Linked DNA regions of Homo sapiens: regions 1, 2, 4 and 5 are each linked to region 3. The links are contacts of gene promoters, found by promoter capture Hi-C in blood cells and fetal thymus (Javierre and others, 2016). All regions are on one chromosome and are shown on one strand. The core of a region is centred on a gene start or on the middle of the fragment in contact, and the rest is flanking DNA. Distances in the headings are between cores, read along the strand shown.

The links. Contacts are between HindIII fragments. The CHiCAGO score rates a contact against its expected background, and 5 or more counts as called.
Region 1: the fragment with the promoter of CIROZ here is called in contact with the fragment with the promoter of C1orf167 in region 3 in 12 of 17 cell types (total B cells, naive CD8 T cells, naive CD4 T cells and 9 more); the score reaches 12.0 in total B cells.
Region 2: a contact is called between the fragment with the promoter of ANGPTL7 here and the fragment with the promoter of C1orf167 in region 3, in 9 of 17 cell types (total B cells, naive B cells, total CD4 T cells and 6 more). The highest score is 8.9, in total B cells.
Region 4: a contact is called between the fragment with the promoter of MASP2 here and the fragment with the promoter of C1orf167 in region 3, in 1 of 17 cell types (M2 macrophages). The highest score is 5.1, in M2 macrophages.
Region 5: a contact is called between the fragment with the promoter of MTOR-AS1 here and the fragment with the promoter of C1orf167 in region 3, in 17 of 17 cell types (naive CD8 T cells, total B cells, naive B cells and 14 more). The highest score is 18.3, in naive CD8 T cells.

The regions. Positions count from the first base shown.
Region 1 is chr1:10,979,857-10,983,334 of GRCh38, reverse strand. It overlaps CIROZ (ciliated left-right organizer protein containing ZP-N domains), which reads left to right and starts at 1,259. Exons shown (of 13, transcript NM_001170754.2): 1 at 1,259-1,323. The coding sequence starts at 1,298. The HindIII fragment of the contact is 7,392 bases long and covers 1-3,478 here.
Region 2 is chr1:11,187,688-11,191,031 of GRCh38, reverse strand. It overlaps ANGPTL7 (angiopoietin like 7), which reads right to left and starts at 1,677. Exons shown (of 5, transcript NM_021146.4): 1 at 1,077-1,677. The coding sequence starts at 1,452. All of the region lies in intron 28 of MTOR (mechanistic target of rapamycin kinase), which reads left to right. RefSeq lists an enhancer at 824-1,324. The HindIII fragment of the contact is 1,155 bases long and covers 1,624-2,778 here.
Region 3 is chr1:11,760,322-11,763,549 of GRCh38, reverse strand. It overlaps C1orf167 (chromosome 1 open reading frame 167), which reads right to left and starts at 1,357. Exons shown (of 21, transcript NM_001010881.2): 1 at 1,245-1,357. It also overlaps the pseudogene LOC101060126. The HindIII fragment of the contact is 5,648 bases long and covers 1-3,123 here.
Region 4 is chr1:11,045,686-11,048,944 of GRCh38, reverse strand. It overlaps MASP2 (MBL associated serine protease 2), which reads left to right and starts at 1,706. Exons shown (of 11, transcript NM_006610.4): 1 at 1,706-1,742; 2 at 1,826-2,054; 3 at 2,212-2,389. The coding sequence starts at 1,738. RefSeq lists an enhancer at 2,369-3,201. The HindIII fragment of the contact is 27,395 bases long and covers 1-3,259 here.
Region 5 is chr1:11,142,034-11,145,321 of GRCh38, reverse strand. MTOR-AS1 (MTOR antisense RNA 1) reads right to left here and starts at 1,424. Exons shown (of 4, transcript NR_046600.1): 1 at 1,335-1,424; 2 at 436-655; 3 at 43-169. MTOR (mechanistic target of rapamycin kinase) reads left to right here. Exons shown (of 58, transcript NM_004958.4): 33 at 277-354; 34 at 567-674. The HindIII fragment of the contact is 11,786 bases long and covers 1,301-3,288 here.

The sequences.
Region 1 (3,478 bases), core at 10-2,509, 780 kb after region 3:
CAATGGCACGATCTCAGCTGTCTGCAATCTCTGCCTTCCAGGTTCAAGCGATTCTCCTGCCTCAGCCTCCAGAGTAGCTGGGATTACAGGTGCCCACCACCAAGCCCGGCTATTTTTTGTATTTTTGGTAGAGACAGGGTTTCACCATGTTGGCCAGGCTGGTCTCAAACTCCTGACCTGATGATCCACCCACCTCAGCCTCCCAAAGTGCTAGGATTACAGGCGTGAGTCACTGCGCCTGGTCTTTTTTTTTTTTTTTTTTTTTTTTTTTTTTTTTTTTTTTTTTTTTAGACGGAGTTTTGCTCTTGTCACCCAGGCTGCAGTACAATGGTACGATCTTGGCTCACTGCAACCTCCATCTCCCGGGTTCAAGCAATTCTCCTGCCTTAACTTCCCAAGTAGCTGGGATTACAGGCGTGCACCCCCACACCTGGCTAGTTTTGTATTTTTAGTAGAGATAAGGTTTCACCATGTTGGCCAGGCTGGTCTCGAAGTCCTGACATCAGGTGATCAGCCTGCCTCGCCCTCCCAAATCACTGGGATTATGGGCATGAGTGACTGTGCCCGGCCCCTTTTTTTTTTTTTTTTAGACAGGGTCTTGTTCTGTTGCCCAGGCTGGAGTGCAGTAGCACAATCAGGGCTCACTGCAGCCTCAACCTCCTGGGCTCAAGCAATCCTCTCACCTCAGCCTCCTGAGTAGCTAGGACCACAGGTGTGTGCCACCATGCCCAGCTAGTTTTTAAATTTTTTGTAGAGACAGGGTCTTGCCATGTTCCCCTGGCTTGTTTCGAACTCCTGACCTCAAACAATCTGCCCATCTCTGCATCCCAAAATGCTGGGGTTACAGGCATGAGCCACCATGCCTGGCCCCTCAGCTCCTTTTGAACTCTGCCAGGAGGGGCCTGGAGCAGGGTTCTGGGAAGCCCCATCAAGACAGCGTGACTGTTCCTCCGGTGAAGCTCAGTTTCTTAGCTTCTTTCCTTCCTTGGGCACAGAGACAGGCTTCTCCCGGGAGCGGAGAATGAGGGCCTGCACTCCAGCCTCAGTGGATCAATTCATCTTCAGCCTTCTGATCCGCAATCTTATTTTGAGCTCCCACGGCTGAAGCAATTCATCTCACCCATGCAGAGGGATGGGGAGAAGCTGAGAGTGTTGACACCCACCTGTGTTTTCTGGCACCTGAGTGACCCGAGACCTGCACTGGAGGGGAAGGGGAGGAGCCAACCTTTCGTTTAGTTGCTTGGAACTGCTTCAGATTAAATTCTCCCAGGGCAGGAGAGAGCTGCTGGGCCTGAGGATGTGGGGGTCCCCAGCACTTGCCTGGTAAGTGTCCCTTATTCAGGAATTGGGAGAAGCCAGTGGCATGCTTAGTGTGCCCACACTCCTTGAAGAAGCCAAATATCTTCCATCAGAATCAGAAGCCTTGCATCTAAGAGGGAAGGGGGCCAAATGGGTGAGGGGCCCAGATGCATGGATGCCTTGGGAAGGGCTGACTTTCTCAGGTGAGGTCCGGCCACAGTCTCTCCCACCTTTCTCATGCTCCTGTCATCCCTTGTTCTGGAATTCCAGTCCTCCCATCTTGGGAAGGATTTCCAGAAGATTGGGAGAAAACAGAACACGTCTTCCTTGTCCTAGAGGGTCCTTAAAACAAAACAAATTAGGGGTCAAGTTGACCAAGAGATGCTTGATTTCAAGGAGTTTTCAAATGATAGGAGTTGTGGTCGCTAGCTATTCGATTGTAAGGATTAGGAGAAAATTTCATTTTCCTTCCTTCCCTCCCTTCCTTCCTTCCCTCCCTGCCTTCCTTCCTTTCTCCTTCCTTCCTTCCCTTTCCTTTCTTTTCTCTTTCTCTCTCTCTCTCCCTCTCTGTCTCTCCTTCTTCCTGAGATAGAGTCTTGCTCTGTTGCCCAGGCTGGAGTGCAGTGGCAAGATCATAGTTCACTGTCATCTCTTAACTCCTGGGCTCAAGTGATCATCCCACTTTAGCCTCCTGAGTAGCTGGGACCATAGGCATGTGCCACCACACTTTGGTAATTTTTTAATTTTTTTGTAGAGACAGGGTCTTACTGTGTTGCCCAGGCTGGTCTTAAACTCCTGGGTTCAAGCCATCCTCCTGTCTCGGCCTCCCAAAGTATTGGGATTACGGGCATGACTCACTGCACTTGGCCAAAATCTCATTTTCCTTGGCAACAGAATTGCTACCTCTTTTCCCCATCTGAGATGCATTTTTAAGAGATACTTTAAAAAGCTCCTGAGAGTGGGAAGTGAAGCCTCCCAGGCCAGCTGGAATGTCACAATAGCTGGCTTGTGGCCTTTGGGCCGTGGACTGCAGGGCTTTTGTTGGGCGTTTTGTGAGGTTGAAGTCTGTAGACAATGAAGGCAGTGGAGAAGCTGAGTGGGGCTTTGTGGGGCTGGGCGAGCAAGGGGGAGGTCCGGGCCCTGTCCTGGGGACCCATTGCCTTCTCCTGGATGCCCCATGAGGGGGCTCAGCTTTGGGGGATGGAGCATCATGTCTCCCCCCAGACTGGGATGGGGCAGTTCTGGGTCTGAGAAGTGAGGGGGAAAAACCCAAACCCACATCTTTCTCCCGATTGATGCTCAAGGAGGAGAACAGGAGCAGGCATCAGACGGAGGGGAGAGCTGTCTACCCCCCACCTGCCACCGGGCCGATTCCAGACAGCATTCCCTGTGTAACAGCAGAGTCGGGGTCCCTGGCAAGGCCGGGACTCAGCACCAGAGTCAGCCACTTTCCTTTTCCCCAAGATTATTCTTCTGGTCCTGTCTCAGATTTACTCGCTCTGGGAGAACCTTCCTTCAAGACCAATTGCCCCAGCCAGGTTTTTGTTTTGCAAATTAATCAACTAATAATAGCGCCTCCCCGCTGCTGGGAGAGGAATTCCGCATTGGGCTCAGTGTCCAGGCAGCAGAGCCCAGGGCGGGTACCCGGCCGTCCATGGGAGAGGCTCGCCACAGGCGCTTCTGAATTCAGCGAATGAAGCGGGGCAGCGGGGCAGCCAGGCAGCCGCAAGCTCCTCCCAGCTCAAAGGCTGCAGGCTCAGCTTAGATTCCAGGCTGGGGAACCAGTCCTGTCATTCTTTGCCAACCCACTCTGGGGAGACTGTGGGCCCTGGCATTTGGCCTCCCTGGGCTGGGCCTGAGGCCCTGGCCCTCTGCCCACCCAGGAATCGAATGGCTCAACGAGGGCAGCCCTAGAAGGAAATGCAGCACCCATTCCTGCCTTTTCACATTGCTTTTTAAACTGTTAACTTTCTTTCTTTCTTTTTTTTGAGACGGAGTTTTGCTCTTGTTGCCCAGGCTGGAGCGCAATGGTGAGATCTCGGCTCACCACAACCTCCACCTCCCAGGTTCAAGCGATTTTCCTGCCTCAGCCTCCTGAGTAGCTGGGATTACAGGCATGCGCCACCGCACCTGGCTAATTTCGTATTTTTAGTAGAGATAGGGTTTCACCATGTTGGCT
Region 2 (3,344 bases), core at 428-2,927, 570 kb after region 3:
GAAAATGGCCTGAGAATACCTTTCTAATCCCAAACTGAGGGCCCGGAAGTCCATGCTTAGAAAGTGATTGATACATGTTGGTTCAGGTAACAGAATTTTCAAGCTTGGTTTCATGTTAAAACTTTTTCTTAATTTGAGCTGAGGTTAACCATTGACTTAGTCAGTAGAAGCTGATCATGTCTTTGTTCTTCATGTAGTTTATAATGGGACCAATGGTTTTTATATCAGCAAGAAATGACATGTCTATAGGATATGCTCCTTACAACTAATATTTTCCTGATAATTTCAGAAAACCAAATTTTTATCTCTAAACCGTAAATTCATGTTGGCCCACCTGAGCTGAGCTAACCAGAAATAAAAGTTATTTTGCAAAAGAAAGATTAAATTTATCTTATTTTTGGCCTATTAAGTCTATATTTCAGCATTGCATTTAAAAAATCCTGTATTCGGAGAAATTCATTTAAGACCATGGAAAAAAATAGACGTATCACAATTGAGGAACCTTAAGGAGCCGCATCCTTCCTGAACACAAAGGGACTCTTCACATGGTTATGTGTCTCTACACTTAACTCTGAGCCAATGAGAAGAGTTACGTTTACAGAGAGAGGACACAAAATTCCATTAATGCTCATTCCTGGTAAATCTTAGGAACACCAGAGAACTGTTTCTGGCAAAACTTTGCTTCCAGAGGAACAGCTGTTACAGTTTGGTGCTTCCTTGGAATTTCTTGAGATATAGCCTGTCAGCTCTTGGTGAGGAAGTAGCAGAGCTACACCAATCAGGAAGACTTGAACCCTGCTTCTAAGACTTGCTGGGTGACTTTGGGCAAACCATGTAGTATCTCAGCACTCCAAGATGGTAGGCTGAAACACTGTGTGGATAAAAGAGACCCGTGAAGGTGTTAGGTAAACTTACATAGCATTAGAAGTCAAAGGAAATACTGCATAAGCCTTTACTAAAGGGAAAGTGTACCCACAAAAGAGGCCCCAGTAGTGGTTCTGATGACCAGGATATGTAGAAGCAGTGCTGTAGATGGGGAGGCACTCCACGCTCCCTCAGGGGACTGGTCTCCTTACCTGCGGAGGTCTGAGTGACCGTCTGTGCTGCCTGCAGCTGCATGATGTCAATTTGGTTGTTCATCTCGGAGTACTTGCTCTCAGCATCTGTGAGCCGCGACTCCATGCGCTTGCTGTTGCTCTCCAGCTCCATCACCTGCATGACCACGCTGACCCAGTCCCTCTCCTGCTTCTTGTTCAGTTCACTCAGCAGGCTGCTAAGGTTGGCAACTTGGGCCTTGAGCTCCTTCACCTCCTCACAGCAGTTGGCCGCTTTGAGCTGTGGCTGTGCTGGTGTCTTGTGCTTAGAGAGCTTCTGCAGCCACGCTGGGTGGCTGACAAAGGCCACGATGAAAATGCAGAGCCAGGTCACAGCTGAGAGAGGCTTTTTCAGCATCTTTTGTGGGTTTGGGTGAGGAAGGCTCTTCCTTCAGGGGAGTCTGGAGATGCCCAGCTGAGGTCTGCAAAGCTGCAGCAGGCTGACTGAACCTTACGCTTTCACTCTGAGGGCCTCGCCACTTTGTTGTTTTCTCTCTTTCCTTGCTCTTTGCTAGCCTTTCTCAAAGCTTGAGTCTCTGACAGGGGAGCTGAATGGGTAGCCTATAGCTTTCCTTCCAAGCCCGAATGCTCCACAAGTCAGCATCTTAAATATTGTTTGCTGCCTGTACCTCCACCCCTACCATGGCTGCACCAGGCTTTAGCCCCTCCCAGCTCATCTGGGAGGGTCAGGTGCCTGTTGGGTGAAGTCAGCGGCAACTTAGGCCAGAGGAGGGGAGGAGGGAGATGGGGCGAGTCTTTCTTTCCTTGCCTGTACAGTCTCTGGGCTAAGACAAGAGGACTGTGAATTTGTGTGTTTCCAGTTTCGCCTATTAGATTATGCCCCTGCCAGCCACTGGCTCAACTCTATCAGCAAGCAGGACAGGGTCAGAAGAATTTCCAAATTCCGTTCAAAAGGTTATATAACCATGGGGTGAGCGTAAGGTAGGCGAAAGAGACGCTACTCACCCAGGGAGGCCTGTTAATGTAATCCATGCTGTTTATATGAGGATCTGGTATATTTTGACATCCTGCTGAATATGCTTTTATCTAGGCTGATTATTCCCATCTCTGATCATTATTTAGTATTTTATAAAATCCTTACTCAACCTGGATCTAACACTATCTCACATTTGAAATCTTCCAACTTAGAAAAGTTCTAGAAATAGAAGAATAGAGTAAATCTCTTAGGAAGCCAAAAAAAGACTTTGTAGCCACAGGGTTTGGACAGTTGTCTTTTTACATGCTTTCTCCTTCAACAAAGAGAGGGCCAGTATTAGCATATAACACTTGATATTTTGCAAGGAGGTGTCAGAAGATTACAACAGAGATGAAAACTCAGCAGTGCCAAGCATGTCTGGGATTGGTCACCCATGCTTCTGTCAGTTTCTAGGCAGGACAGAGAACAGGCCCATCCTTAGCCCGTGGTTCAAAACTTGGAAAATATATTAAAATATAGAGAAAAGAATCCCTGTCACCTAATAAATCCATATCTAGAGTCTCATTTCCCTCTTTCTTTGCTGGTATGGTTTGCAATTTGAAATTATTCCTCCTCTATTTGTATATGACTTTGTATCTAAAAAACATGAATATTGTAATTTTTCATGTACTATATATGAAGGACAATGCTCTTTTGAAAAGAAATGTGAAAAACATGGAGTTTCAGCAAACATCCTTAAAATAAGCTTTTCACTAAGAATCTATACAAAGGTTCCTCTGTCCTTAAAACAGTAACTCTGTCTTTGGAACATACGATTGCTGTTTCCATGTTATGGAGCCACTCAGGCAGTTACTTGTACTGTTGTAGTCAGCGTGGGTCCTTCCCACATAAGCCTGATGCCTGACAGCTCTCCTCCCATGCCATAATCCCCCAGAGCTCTTTTCCAGTCAGGGCTTCTAGCTCCTCAGAAAGTAATTTCTGTTCAGGCAGCTGGAGTTACTGAACAATTTTTTTTTTTCTCAGAATCAAAAAGCAGTGGAGGATCAGGTGGATCAGAGTTTGTTTTCTCACATACCCAGCCTCCTTTGCCTGCTAAAGGGTGAGGATGTTACTGATACCCTTATAGCAACTTGGCATTCTAATCAAAAGATTCTGTTGAGAATTGGCACTGTCTGCCAGTCTGCTCTCTTTTTGCAAATGTCTAGCCCAGCTGGGCACCACAGCCTTAGCTCCATAGCATTCATTTTAGTAACGAGACTCTGGCCCCAAATATTGGCATCCTACAAGGTCTGCTAAAAATAGGGATTTTCAAG
Region 3 (3,228 bases), core at 108-2,607:
TGAAACAAAGCCCATTTGTTTACAGACTGTCTGCTTTCCAGCTGCAATAGCAGAGCTCAATAGCTGCAAGATACCTTAGGCTGCAAAACCTTTTTTTTTTTTTTTTTGAGCCGGAGTCTCACTTTGCCACCCAGGCTGGTACAATGGCGTGATCCCGGCTCACTGCAACCTCCGCCTGCCTCCCTGGGCTCAAGGGATCCTCCCACCTCAGCCTCTAACAAGCTGGAACCACAGGCACATGCCACCACGCCAGACTAATTTTTCTATTTTTTGGTAGAGACAGGGTTTCACCATGATGGCCAGGATGGTCTCGAACTCCTGACCTCAGGTGATTGGCCCGCCTCGGCCTCCCAAAGTGCTGGGATTACAGGCGTGAGCCACCACACCCAGCCCCGCAAAGTCTTTAAAATCTGGCTGCCAGTTATGGTCCTCCCCAATTCCTCTTCCCCTTGCCCACTGTCCTCCACACACACCAGCCCCCTGGCTGCTCCTCCAAATGGCACACACGACCTCACCTCAGCGCCTCTGTGCTGCTGTCCCCTCTGCCTTCAAGTCTTGCCTCCCACATCACAGTGAGCCCTCCCTGCCCACTGTCTCTCCAACTGCAGCAACCTGGCCTCTCCTCACTCTCTTTGCCCTGCACTTGCGGCCACCTAACATAGTGAAGAAATTAGTGTATTTCTCCCTCCAGTGGCCTAGGAGCCACACGAGGGCAGGCTGGTTTTTTTTGTTTGTTTGTTTCCCTGCTGGATTTGCAGCCCATAGAACAATGCCTGACCCCCAGCAGGGGCTTGTAAATGCACATTGAATAAATGACAACCGTGCTAGGCACCTTGCAGCCTTCAGCAGGCGTCCTGCCATTTAATCTGCACTGCAGCCCTGGGACTTAGGTTCCCTGTTTTAGAAATGAGGACAGGAGCTTAGAAGGGCCTGTCCCACCCAAGGCCTCAGAGGGAGCACCCCAGGGCTGGCTCCACAGCGCAGACTCCTAACCAAGAACACCCCACCATCCCCTCTTGCCCAAGTTGACTTGAGGCCGCTCAATCCACAGGAGACCTTCCTGCACCCCTGCCCCTCACGCCGGAGCTCTTCGGTCCATTTCTCCGCTCCTCGTCCGTCTCCCTCAGACTCCCCCCTCCCACTCCACCCCCACCCCTGTCCACTTAAGGGGGCTCACAGCCTCCCTCCTCTTGCCACCAAAAGAGTCTGAGGTCAGTTTCCTGCCCTCATGGATCTGCCCTCACGTGCGTGGGTCCTCCTCGGGTCCTCCTTCACCCAGTCGGATTTGAATCTAGACGGGGGCTGGGACCGCTAACGATCCCCGCAGGTCGGCAGGTCGCGGGCGGGAGGGGACGTCGGAGAGCAGAGCGTGCTGCCCCGCGCTTGGCCCCGCCCAGCCCTGAGCCGTGGGCGTGGCCACCGACGTCCTGGTACAGGTTTTGCCGGGTCCTCCGCAGGCAAGGCACGTGGTCCCAGGGCAACTTTTGCACGTGCAAGATGAGCGACATTCTCTTGGCCATCAGGTCCCCGGGAACCTCCTCCACCCTCTGCCCCGAATCCTGTGGCAGCATCACTGGGGTCTGGGCTTCCTCCACCAGGCGTGCCTCCTCTTGGCTCCTTCCCGCACCTAGAGCTGCCTCCTGGAGCCCCCGCACATCTGGGATACCCCCAGCCATGTCCCCACCACCTATGCCTCTTGGGGCTGCAGGACATGCCCCCGGCTCCCACTGGTAGGAACCCCAGGGGCAGGACATCCGGGTCATGGACACTCACATCCTCACCCGTTCCCAATAGGTGCGATGTCCCATCCAGGGATGTCTCAGATGCAGCTGGCAAACCATGGCCCTCATGGCTGAGGACACACCCGTGATGGGACCCCAGGATCTGGGGGGCAGCCACCACCCTGATCACCACCTGGAATGCCTCATCCTGGACCTCCTCCAATGAGCATGTCCCCCAAGGGGTCTCGGTCTGGATCTCCCATGGGTCACTCACGTCCTATGCCTCCATGGTATGTGTGGACCTCCTCCACCGATGCTGCCTCATGGATACACTGGCCCTCCCCAACACCCACCCTATGGCTTCCGGGGGGGACTCTCCCTCCACCCAGACCCACTCCGGGGCCTCCAGTTCCCCCTCAAGGCCCACTTTGGGGCCCTCTCCCTCAGTAAATTCACATTCTTCTTCCTCCTGTTATATCTTCCCAATATCTTTTTGATTCCTTGGACCAGAGATGCTGCAGCTCCTTGCAACTAAGGCACAAATCCCTTTCAGCCTTCCCATCTTCCTTTTTAATGCCATTTTTTTCCCCATAGAAGGTATTTCTTTTTCATGTTGGTCCTAAGTATTTTGCAAATGCAAAGGAAAATAAAACTATAACAAATTTCTTGTTAAAAGAAAGAAAGAAAGAAAGGCTAGGCACAGTGGCTCACACCTGTAATCCCAGCACTTTGGGAGGCTGAGGTGGACGGATCACAAGATCAGGAGTTCAAGACCAGCCTGGCCAACATGGTGAAACCCTGTCTCTACTAAAAATACAAAAATTAGCCGGGCATGGTGGCGGGCACCTGTAATCCCAGCTACTCAGGAGGCTGAGGCAGGAGAATCACTTGAACCTGGGAGGCAAGGGTTGCAGAGAGCCAAGATCCTGCCATTGCACTCCAGCCTGAGCAACAGACCAAGACTCTGTCTCAAAAAAAAAAAAAAAAAAAAAAGAAAAAAAGAAAAGAAAAGAAAAGGCTGGATGTGGTGGCTCATGCCTGTAATCCCAGCACTTTGGGAGGCCGAGGCAGCCGGATCACTTGAGGTCAGGAGTTCAAGACCAGCCTGGCCAACATGGCAAAATCCCATCTCTATTAAAAATACAAAAAGTAGCTGGTGTGATGGTGTGCACCTGTAATCCCAGCTATTCAGGAGGCTGAGGCAGGAGAATTGCTTGGACCTGGGAGGTGGAGGTTGCAGTGAGTGGTGATCATGCCACTACCCTCCAGCCTGGGTGACAGAGTGAGATTCTGTTTCAAAAAAGAAAAAAAGAAAGAAAAGAAAAGAAAAAAAAGAAAGAAAAACTCTCCCAGCCTTCAGGCACCTCAGAAACTGGCTGGACTCCACCTTAATACCCAAGCTTTGCCGTGCCGTCAGCCTAGCTCGATCACACTTCCTTCAAGGCTGCAAAGGTCCGTCCACTTTCCACCTCCCAAACCTTTGCCCACATTGTTCCCCACTGTGCCC
Region 4 (3,259 bases), core at 457-2,956, 710 kb after region 3:
GCTATGTATGTATTTTTTGAGACAAAATCTTACTCTGTCACCCAGGCTGGAGTTCAATGGCATGAACATGGCTCACTGCAACCTTGAGACCTCCTGGGCTCAAGCGATTGTCCCATCTCAGCCTGCCAAGTAGCTGGGACTAAAGGTGCATGCCACCATGCCTGGCTAATTTAAAAAAATTTTTTTTTTTTTTAGAGACAAGGTCTTGCTATGTTGCCCAAGCTGGTCTTGAACTCCCGGTCTCAGGCGACCCACCTGCCTCAGCCTCCCAGCCTCCTGGGATTATGGGCAGGAGTCACTACACCCAGCCAGAGTCCCGGTCTCTAAAAGAAAATAGGCCAGGCATGGTGGCTCACGCCTGTAATCCCAGCACTTTGGGAGGCTGAGGCGGGTGGATCACCTGTGGTTGGGAGTTCGAGACCAGCCTGACCAACATGGAGAAACTCCGTCTCTACTAAAAATACAAAACTAGCCGGACGTGGTGGCGCATGCCTGTAATCCCAGCTACTCGGGAGGCTGAGGCAGGAGAATTGCTCGAACCCCGGAGGCAGAGGTTTGGTGGCTCACACCTGTAATCCCAGCACTTTGCGAGGCTGAGGCAGGTGCATCGCTTTGGCTCAGGAGTTCAAGACCAGCCTGGGCAACACAGGGAGACCCCCATCTCTACAAAAAACAAAAACAAATATAAAGGGGATAAAAAAAAAAAAAAGACAAGACATGAATCCATGAGGACAGAGTGTGGAAGAGGAAGCAGCAGCCTCAAAGTTCTGGAAGCTGGAAGAACAGATAAACAGGTGTGAAATAACTGCCTGGAAAGCAACTTCTTTTTTTTTTTTTTTTTTTTTGAGGTGGAGTCTCACTCTGTCGTCCAGGCTGGAGTGCAGTGGTGCGATCTCGGATCACTGCAACCTCCGCCTCCCAGGCTCAAGCAATTCTCCTGCCTCAGCCTCCCGAGTAGCTGGGATTATAAGTGCGCGCTGCCACACCTGGATGATTTTTGTATTTTTAGTAGAGATGGGATTTCACCATGTTGGTCAGGCTGGTCTCAAACTCCCAACCTCGTGATCCACCCACCTTGGCCTCCCAAAGTGCTGGGATTACAGGTATAAGCCACCGAGCCCAGCCAAAAGCGACTTCTAAGCCTGCAAGGGAATCGGGAATTGGTGGCACCAGGTCCTTCTGACAGGGTTTAAGAAATTAGCCAGCCTGAGGCTGGGCACGGTGGCTCACACCTGTAATCCCAGCACTTTGGGAGGCTAAGGCAGGTGGATCACCTGAGGGCAGGAGTTCAAGACCAGCCTGACCAACATGGAGAAACCCCATCCCTACCAAAAATAAAAAATTAGCCAGGTGTGGTGGTGCTCGCCTGTAATCCCAGCTACTTGGGAGGCTGAGGTGGGAGGATTGCTTGAACACAGGAAGTAGAGGCTGCAGTGAGCTATGATTGCAGCACTGCACTGAAGCCGGGGCAACAGAACAAGATCCAAAAAAAAGGGAGGGGTGAGGGGCAGAGCCAGGATTTGTTTCCAGGCTGTTGTTACCTAGGTCCGACTCCTGGCTCCCAGAGCAGCCTGTCCTGCCTGCCTGGAACTCTGAGCAGGCTGGAGTCATGGAGTCGATTCCCAGAATCCCAGAGTCAGGGAGGCTGGGGGCAGGGGCAGGTCACTGGACAAACAGATCAAAGGTGAGACCAGCGTAGGGCTGCAGACCAGGCCAGGCCAGCTGGACGGGCACACCATGAGGTAGGTGGGCGCCCACAGCCTCCCTGCAGGGTGTGGGGTGGGAGCACAGGCCTGGGCCCTCACCGCCCCTGCCCTGCCCATAGGCTGCTGACCCTCCTGGGCCTTCTGTGTGGCTCGGTGGCCACCCCCTTGGGCCCGAAGTGGCCTGAACCTGTGTTCGGGCGCCTGGCATCCCCCGGCTTTCCAGGGGAGTATGCCAATGACCAGGAGCGGCGCTGGACCCTGACTGCACCCCCCGGCTACCGCCTGCGCCTCTACTTCACCCACTTCGACCTGGAGCTCTCCCACCTCTGCGAGTACGACTTCGTCAAGGTGCCGTCAGGACGGGAGGGCTGGGGTTTCTCAGGGTCGGGGGGTCCCCAAGGAGTAGCCAGGGTTCAGGGACACCTGGGAGCAGGGGCCAGGCTTGGCCAGGAGGGAGATCAGGCCTGGGTCTTGCCTTCACTCCCTGTGACACCTGACCCCACAGCTGAGCTCGGGGGCCAAGGTGCTGGCCACGCTGTGCGGGCAGGAGAGCACAGACACGGAGCGGGCCCCTGGCAAGGACACTTTCTACTCGCTGGGCTCCAGCCTGGACATTACCTTCCGCTCCGACTACTCCAACGAGAAGCCGTTCACGGGGTTCGAGGCCTTCTATGCAGCCGAGGGTGAGCCAAGAGGGGTCCTGCAACATCTCAGTCTGCGCAGCTGGCTGTGGGGGTAACTCTGTCTTAGGCCAGGCAGCCCTGCCTTCAGTTTCCCCACCTTTCCCAGGGCAGGGGAGAGGCCTCTGGCCTGACATCATCCACAATGCAAAGACCAAAACAGCCGTGACCTCCATTCACATGGGCTGAGTGCCAACTCTGAGCCAGGGATCTGAGGACAGCATCGCCTCAAGTGACGCAGGGACTGGCCGGGCGCAGCAGCTCACGCCTGTAATTCCAGCACTTTGGGAGGCCGAGGCTGGCTGATCATTTGAGGTCAGGAGTTCAAGGCCAGCCAGGGCAACACGGTGAAACTCTATCTCCACTAAAACTACAAAAATTAGCTGGGCGTGGTGGTGCGCACCTGGAATCCCAGCTACTAGGGAGGCTGAGGCAGGAGAATTGCTTGAACCTGCGAGGTGGAGGCTGCAGTGAACAGAGATTGCACCACTACACTCCAGCCTGGGCGACAGAGCTAGACTCCGTCTCAAAAAACAAAAAACAAAAACGACGCAGGGGCCGAGGGCCCCATTTACAGCTGACAAAGTGGGGCCCTGCCAGCGGGAGCGCTGCCAGGATGTTTGATTTCAGATCCCAGTCCCTGCAGAGACCAACTGTGTGACCTCTGGCAAGTGGCTCAATTTCTCTGCTCCTTAGGAAGCTGCTGCAAGGGTTCAGCGCTGTAGCCCCGCCCCCTGGGTTTGATTGACTCCCCTCATTAGCTGGGTGACCTCGGGCCGGACACTGAAACTCCCACTGGTTTAACAGAGGTGATGTTTGCATCTTTCTCCCAGCGCTGCTGGGAGCTTGCAGCGACCCTAGGCCTGTAAGGTG
Region 5 (3,288 bases), core at 175-2,674, 620 kb after region 3:
CCACATTCCCATGCCCTTGCCACCTAAGATTTTGTGTGTTACCTTAGATAGATGTTAAAGTTTTGGATGCCATACATTTCTGTCTTCGATGAGAAATTGGATAATACCTCCTCTCAAGCCATTCAGTTCTGGGAAAATGCCCTTCTTCAGCGAATTTCTCTTTTCATCCCTGGAATTTAAGTGAGACAGATAACTTCTGTAGCTAGTTGGGGTGCCCTAAAATAACCCTAAGCTCCCAAGTCCAGAGCTCAGTCCCAAGGGTTGTTTCTCTTCTAGTGCATTGACAAGGCCAGGGACCTGCTGGATGCTGAATTAACTGCGATGGCAGGAGAGAGTTACAGTCGGGCATATGGGGTAAGTGTCAACTATTCTGCACATTGTCATTTTTGAGGCTTATTTCCATACTTTTTTCAGAATGGGCTATTGAGAACTTACAGGCTGCTGGAAACATGCCTGTTTTCTCTGATCGGCAGATACCCTGACACCAGAAGGAATGATTTAAATTAATCCTGTCTTTTGGATTGTTCGTGCAGTAATTAGTTTGGAATGCGATTTGCTTCCATCAGGCCATGGTTTCTTGCCACATGCTGTCCGAGCTGGAGGAGGTTATCCAGTACAAACTTGTCCCCGAGCGACGAGAGATCATCCGCCAGATCTGGTGGGAGAGACTGCAGGTGAGCTTGGTAGAAAGCCCCAGTTCACCCACCTACCCCTACCCCTTCCAGGACCTGGGTGAGTGCCCCCCTCCACCCTGGCTCTTACTCAACTTGCTTTTCCTGCCTCCTCCACCAGTGTATTGCTTGGCTTGCATACAAAGCAGAATACTCAAAGGCTCCTCACCTAAACTTAAGCTGTGAGAGAATGACCAATTTTCCAGTCTCTTCTTATTCTCTTCTCTAGGAATTAAAAAAAATGTTTTTTAGTAAGTGACACCTGTGACCAGTCAGTTAGGAATCATAACCTCAAAATCAGTGGTTCTCAACCTTAGCAGCACAGTAGAATCACCTGCAGAGCTTTTTAAAATCCTGATGCCCAGGCTATTCCCCAGGCCAATTAAATTTCTGGGGAGAGACTCAGGATCAGTATCTTTTCAGGTTCCCCCAGATGATTCCACCAGCCAAAGCTAAGAACCACTGCTCTAACTACACTTGGAGGCCACCTGCACCAGCTTTTCAGATGGGGTTGCCTTAGGTTCTCATTGGCCAACTCCTGCTATTTATAGCTACTTAGGTCAGAGTCATCCTGTCGCCTCTATTGAGACTTTTTTTCCACTGCAGTTTCCGCTTGTAGAGAAGAAGCTTTCCCAAGTCCTCCATCAGTGTTTTCATTCTCACATTCTGATCATTTTAACATGAGAAACTGTCACTCCAGGTCTGGGAGTCAGGAGTCTAAATGTTCTGGGAAGGATGGCCAGTTATCCCATTCCTTGAGTGGGTAGGATAGGAAGTTCATCAGCAAAAGAAAAAAGAGAGAAAGCCTTTACCACTCCAGAAACCATTTGTCTCCCTACCTATCATAATCCATCCCCGCAATTATAAACCATTTCCTCTCAACTAGATCCCCACCTAATTGCTAATTCCAAATTCTCGCTTCAGACCAATCGAAGTTTGTGCTTCCAGGCGTCTCAGTAGGCTGCGACAAAACCTTTTGACTCCAAACACATTCCTGCCTAGGAAGCTCAGGGCACATTCCCCTGGACAGGAAAGAGCAATGGGCAAAGGAACATCTATGAATACAGTCATTTATGGCTCTGAAATGAGCACATACAGTTCTTTTACATGTTTTATTAGTAATTATGAAATGCCCAGTGAATGTTTTGATGGAAAATTGTCTCCTGGGCACCAGAAAGAATTCCACAAATAAGCATTTCCCACTTGATTTGTACACACCCCAATTCTTTGAAATGCCTATAATAAAGAGTTTCTACAGCAGAGATCTGATGAACCTTCTGACAGTCTGACAAGTGGGACTTGATCCAAATGTAGACTTAGAGGAGAGGGGAGGCATGGAATGAGTCCTGGGAAGAGAGATGCCTGTCTGACTTTACTGGGTCCAGGACACTGCCACCACCTTAAGCCTTCGTGACTTTCCTATCTTGAGGCAGCAAGATGCTTTTTGGCTTACAGGAGGCCAAATTATTTCAGCATCTGGGAGAACCTAACTATTGGTGAGAAGTCACAAAAAACAATCACTCAGTGTACTTTTTTCTGTTATTTTAACTTTCGAAATCATTGTTGTCACACTTCATGGGATGGAAAAATGTGGTCCAAGGCCTGAAAGTAAAGCATTACATTTATAGTGGAAATTTGGCTCTTGTGGATGGCTTGCTGTCAAATGAACTGCTGGGGCTAGAAAACTGCCATTTTGTGGTCAAATCATTTAAATTAAAATCCCCAACCAGTATTATAGTAGTGGAAAAATACATGTTTGTTACTTTTCTTTGGAGTTGCACCAATGCTTTTGGTTCCTAAGACCCTCCCATAGGGCAGTTAGAGAGGTCAGCCTTACTGGCGCTGGGTCTCTTCTAGCCTTGGGTTCTCCAGTCAGGCTCAGACTGCATCTTATCATAGCTAAAAGCCTGAGATCATTGTCGCTAGACTTTTAAGTTTATCTCCATGGAGGACAGCTCCATGGGTTCATGGAATTTACCATGAAGCAGTAGATCTCAGGAACTCCCCTTCTGAGTCTGACTTCTTATCAACAAGGATGAAAAAGGAGTTCACTTGGCCAGGCATGGTGGCTCACACCTGTAATCCCAGCACTTTGGGAGGCTGAGGCAGGTGGATTGCTTGAGGTCAGGAGTTTGAGACTTAGCCTGGCCAACATAGAGAAACCCCCTCTCTGCTAAAAGAAAAAAATACAAAAATTAGCCAGGCGTGGTGGCGCACACCTGTAATCCCAGCTCCTTGGGAGGCTGAGGCAGGAGAATCGCTTGGACCTGGGAGGCAGAGGTTGCAGTGAGCCAAGATTGCGCCACTGCACTCCAGCCTGAGGGACAGAATGATACTCCATCTCCAAAAAAAAAGGAGTTCTGCCTGCTTCTGCTCCCAAAGTTCTGGGATTACAGGCATGAGCCACCATGCCTGGCCTTCTGATACATTTTAACTTCCCTGCAAGCCACAGCCAAATCCACTGTGAAACACAACGGAGATTTGCTGATAGAATCTCAGGTTAAGGGTACTGTGAGTGAAATACCCTTAGGCAGCCGTCCCCAACCTGACTCTCTATAGTTGTTAGATGTAAAATTAGCTTAAGCCCCTTTGATAATTAATTCACTTTTTTATTATT